2 separate regions of the Homo sapiens genome follow, and region 2 is linked to region 1. The links are contacts of gene promoters, found by promoter capture Hi-C in human tissues and cell types (Jung and others, 2019). All regions are on one chromosome and are shown on one strand. The core of a region is centred on a gene start or on the middle of the fragment in contact, and the rest is flanking DNA. Distances in the headings are between cores, read along the strand shown.

What was found. The method cuts DNA at HindIII sites, captures the fragments that hold promoters and counts their contacts. A contact is called where the count stands out against the background at its distance.
Region 2: a fragment that was not itself captured here is called in contact with the fragment with the promoter of DLX5 in region 1 in 1 of the 25 tissues and cell types used here (H1 embryonic stem cells).

Annotation. Positions count from the first base shown.
Region 1 is chr7:97,023,502-97,026,201 of GRCh38, forward strand. It overlaps DLX5 (distal-less homeobox 5), which reads right to left and starts at 1,330. Exons shown (of 3, transcript NM_005221.6): 1 at 768-1,330. The coding sequence starts at 1,122. RefSeq lists enhancers at 836-1,552, 2,479-2,700. The HindIII fragment of the contact is 6,057 bases long and covers 1-2,700 here.
Region 2 is chr7:96,770,699-96,773,398 of GRCh38, forward strand. No RefSeq gene overlaps it. Among named protein-coding and RNA genes, the nearest start is that of SEM1, 62 kb to the left of the region's middle. The HindIII fragment of the contact is 5,784 bases long and covers 1-2,700 here.

The DNA.
Region 1 (2,700 bases), core at 80-2,579:
CTCCGCCGAGCCTCATGCCTTTCTCTTACCGCCCAAGCTCACTAACCCTCTTAAACTCTCTAAGTAAGTTTCAAAGCGGACGAAAAAGGAGGACGGAAAGACAAATTGTGGGCGCCTATGGAGACAGAAAAAAAAATCTATCCTACAACGTGACCCCTCAGCAACCCTCCTCCACCTTTAAATGGCTTTTTGTTTTTGGAAATGCCTGGATAAACCGCAAAACTCTCGGCGCGCTCTTCTCTGGCTGGCTACAACTCCTTAACCCCCCCACCCCCACCCAGCGTGCTCAGGGCACCCGCACCGTGCTAGCTTGTGGCGGCTCTCAAACTAATCCTGACTGAGTTTTTGAGGCAGCCTTCTATTCCCACTCGCACCAACCCAGCACGCTTACCAAAATTCCCAAGTAACCTTCTCTTTGTTACGCAAACGCCAGGAGCTGCTTGATTCTTTCTTCTCTCCACCCCTATCCCCTTTCCAGCCTAGCCGGCTTCCTGGCCGGGCAAGCTGGGAATTCAGCGACTGAAGGGCCTTGGAAGGTGCCGGAGGGGAGAGACGCTAGTTCGAACCTCCACAGGGCTCTCCTACTAAAAATCCCTAAAATGCTGGCCCGAGAAACTCTCTTTGTTGGAGGGTCTGAGTCCTACTCCCTTCTGCCGCGTGCGCCCCCACTGCCGTGAACCGCTGTGACCCCCAATCTACCACCCCATCTCGCGCCCCCAGCGTCCTAGTCGCCCTGTATCTGCCCAGCCTTCCCCCTGTCCATGTACCTGGCTGGTTGGTGGCGCTTGGGACGCGGTTGTAGGCGCCGCCGTACTGGTGGTAGGAGCTAGCGTAGCTATAGTCGGCATAAGCTTTGGCTGGGTAGCTCCCGGCGGAGCCGTTCACGCCGTGATACTGATACTGGTAGGGGTTGAGAGCTTTGCCATAGGAAGCCGAGGTAGGAGAGCAGTAGCCGTGCGGGGCTCCCCCCGTAGGGCTGTAGTAGTCAGAATCGGTAGCTGAAGACTCGGGCAAAGTTGGCGATTCCTGAGACGGATGGTGCATAGCTGCGGACGTCTGGAACGGAGCTTGGAAGTCGCCGGATCGGATGCTGGGGACCCTTCTGTCAAACACTCCTGTCATCGCTCACGGGCGGCGGCAGCGGCTGTCCTTGCTGTTGTGGCGGCGGCAGCTGCCCTAGTTGGCTGTGGGGCTGCTCTGGTCTAAGCAGACATGGCTGTGGGAGCGAGGGAGGAGGAGGAAGAGGAGGAGGAGAGAAGGAGGAGGCGGCGGCCGCGGCGAGGAGGAGACTGGGAGTCGTGAAGTCTCTGTCTCCGGCCGGCTGACTGCTGGCTGAGGCGCAGCACAGCCTTGGTTAAATCCTTAATTGCGCGCTTACGCACAGCGGGGTGGATCTGGTTCTATTGGCCAGGGCCTCGGGAGCAACAGTAACACCCTAACTCGTCCAACTAGTTTTAGCACAACAAAGCATTGCTTAAAAAGGGGGTGGGGGGTACTGAGGGGGTGTGTGTGTTTGTGTGTGTGCGCGCCCGCGCGCTTGTGTGTGTTTTTGCTTGTTGTGGAGTGGGGAGGGGTCTTAGTCTATCTGTTTTTAGTAAATTCCAAAGACATCGCAGAAGCCACAGCACAAGGCTCTGTGATGTCTGGGGACAATGTGTTCCAATCAGAAGCCTCAAAAGTGCACATGTTTTGGGAATGAGGTGGGCGACCATCTTTCCTTGCTTCCCACTACCCCGCCCCCGTGGGCTGCACCAAAGGCGAGTGTAGAATTAAACACTGATACTGAAATAGGGAGTCAAGGTGCAGGGAGTGGGGAGCGGGGGGATGTAGGATGGAGGCAAGAAGGAAGGGAAACAGCATTTTTTTTTTTTTTAGTGGAGTGTTGGGAAGCAAGTTGTAACTTACATGTTTTGAAAATTTGCTCTTTGGGGAAAGAGGCAACTTCCTTTGCAGGAGATGAGTATCTCCCGGACGCGGGCTGGACAGGAATGCCCAAGAAGGCACAATGTCCATTAAGCCGGTGAATGGCAGGGAGAGTTCCTGCAGCCCAAAGTCCTTATAATGACTTTTAAAAATTACTGTCTTAAACACATATAACTTAAGGAAGCCCAAATCCTCGTTGCTGGCTTGCAAAAAGAGCCAAACAGCTCCACTTCTGTTTAATATTTTCATCTATTTTCAAGACATTGGAATAAAGGCTCTTTAACTATGTTCAGTGGCCAAAGACTCCCGCAAAGGTGAATGGATCCATGTATAACCTGCCATACCTCCAGGAAAGAATGGGAAAGTCTCGGAAGTGGGGAAGGAGACAAGGATCAAAGCCTTTGCAAAGTCAGATGATGCTCATTGATTTCCCCCTCCTGGCTCCATGAATGTGGCCCAGTCTCTCCATTTCCCAGACCCGGGTTTCTGTACCCTCTCCCCTTTATTTCCTGCTGCAAAGACATCCTACTTAGCTCGTATGCAAGGGAAGAAAGGATTCAAGAATCATTCAGTTGATACACGAGATCTAAACTTTGCTCTTCAGGAGGTGCTATCCTTGTTCTAGTCGTGATTCAGCTGGGAGTTTAGAAATTCAGCATAAAAGTCTCTCCCAATCCCCATTGTTACTCCCCTCAAATAGGCAACTCCGCGGACTAGATCCTGATTTGGGGCCTTCCTACATCTTCCTTTACGGGGTCCAAGACCGGCAATCTGGGA
Region 2 (2,700 bases), core at 166-2,665, 250 kb before region 1:
ATTTAATGAATAAGGTGATTTTCCTTCCCTCTAACAAATCTGTTTCTGTTTTTCATGTGTTAATGTAATCTACCATCCCATCGGTCCGTCAGCACATCATGCTTATAGTTTTACAGTATGGCACTTCCCAGATAAGAATCCCATTCTTTCTTTTCCTCTTACATGATTTCAAGAGCTGTCTGGCGGTCAGACTGTTGAATTGAATTCAAGGATGCTTTCAGATTCGTGCCATGAAACAGGCAATTCACCTTATCTCCATAAGGCACATTACTGTCCCCCAGTGAATGACATCTGACAGAAACAGTAAAGAGTGACTTATCTAGAATCTAGCAAGCATTTCTTTTCCCAGGATGGGCTGAGAAAGGGATGTTAAAAGGAAGGCATGGCACGTAAATCTTGTGTAACCACAATGAGTACATTGTAAGTCAGCCCACATCAACCATTGTGGCTGGAAAACCTATACTATGGCACCTGTCCTTGCAGAACTGAAAATAGTGAAATTCCATTTCAACCGAAATCAAATAAAAAGTCCAATCGGCTGGATGTTCCAAAGACAGAGCCCCCTGTAGGTTTATTCATGGGGAAGATGCAGCCCCTGAAACTATGCATGAGACCAGAGTACATTTCTGTTGGGAGACCTTGTTGCTGAGTCTGGTGGGACCACGGAACCAGAGTTGCTACCAGGCATTCACTGTGGGGTAAAATAGGGTCCCAAGTTTTCCATTCAGTTATGGATGCAGTCTCTCAGAAATGCCTGTAAAAGTGCTATTGGCTGCTATTTTCTGCTGGAAACAGATTGAAACCTCAGTGTAAGTAAATAATCTCATTCTGAGGCAAAGAAAGACTTTCTAGTCCTCAGTGTGGGGCTTGTTTTAGAGTTTCACATGGAGTCATAAGGTGGGTATAACTGGGAATCAGTTCCAGATTTCCACTGGATTCTGTATACTGAAAATTGCAACATCAATGGACAATAAATTAGTTCACAGCTACTCTGGGTTTGATGCGTGGGAAATGTCATCACAATGGTTGTCTCCCAATTTATAAACCAGTAGAAATTTTTTTTTCTTGGAAAATTGGACACATATGTGGCTATGATTAGCCTCATGTTTATTTTTCATTTCTAAAAAGTATGAGTAAATGTCTACTACATTCGGTGCCCTGTGTGCCAGCATCAGTGGAGAATGGGTTTGGGCAGGGTTAATACTGTTTTTAAAAAATGATTATTAAAAATATTTATTGGGTAAAAATTTAAAACTAAAACTTGTCCTGAAGTTGAATATCCAACCTAAAATCAAATCCACCACGGCTTCATTGTGGTTAGAGGTGCTAATCAAAGATTAAGTGGATTTGCTTTATTGGGGATCCCCAGTTACCACCAAAGCACCTGTAATCTCTGAATTGTGGCCCTTTCTTGTAAAGCAATTCATTTGGTTCTTTCACATTTTTCCCCTTCAACCTCAACAGATTCCTGTGGCTTTTGTGTTATTTTTTCATCGCTCTGATTGAATAATTATTCCCATCCCATCTTGCTCATCTCCTTCTGCATCATATCTTTTGTTGCAGATTTAAACTTGCATGCACTCCCTCTTGTCTCTTCCCTAGTAAGTCCGCCCAGGAATGATTCTGCATGTGAATAGAAGGTGTTGACTGTTCAATATGTTTTGCATGTACTGTCAGCGGCTTTATTACTGCCTCTTTCCAGATCTTTGCCACTAAGAAGCATGAAGATGTTCATTTCAATAACTAGGCTCCTGTCATGTCACAATGGAATGGATGCCTGGGATCGTGTGGATGCTTTGAGTCATAATGAAGGTCGTGTCTAACTTGTGTCAGCAGCAAAGTGGCAAAGAATACAGAAATACCCTCATCAGAGGATATAGCAAAAGCATCCTCAGAGTGGAAGGAACCATTTTCCCAGAAACACCAGTCTTACTAATTTCTAGTGCCCAGCGGCTTGTAATCACAGTGAATGAACATGAAGTTTAAGATGGTGTAGGTGTCATTCAAAGAATGCTGAAGAGTCAAGATACATTCTCAATCAAAATGCAAGCACAAACTGAACTAATCTCTGAAGCCATTGTAGTATCCTCTTCTCTGCTAGATGTCCATCAATATCATAAATATGGCTGCTCTGGACCTATCTCAGTTTTGGATCCTATGAAAATTATTGAAATATATAACCATTCAAAAGAGAGAGTTGAACATTATGACAAGAAAGGATGTTTCTGCTATCTTGTTAAAGGTAGATACATTGTGTATTTATCATTTTGTTACACATATGCTAGACACACACAAACAGGGAACAAAGAATAAAATTCTATACATCAAAATATTAGCTGGGGATATCTCTGAGTGCTAAGATTACAGAAGAATGATATTTTTCCTTATGGTCATCTTTATTTCCACAGTGAATGAAAACAATGAATGTCATAGATTCTAAATTAAACCACAAGCAATTCAACTTCATATATAAAGGGCCCCCAAGGGGATAGGATCTAGATTAGAAACAAACACAACAGAAAGTCCATGTTACCATTATACGATTTCAAAAAGAGTAACTTAGGTGTTTTCATAATGATTTAGTGGTTCTAAAGCTGAAAACAAGTTATGATAGGTTCCAAATTAGTTTAGTTTTCACGGAGACTTTCAGTGTTCCCATTCACTGTTCCAATGTGTGTTTTGCTCATGTCTAATACTATT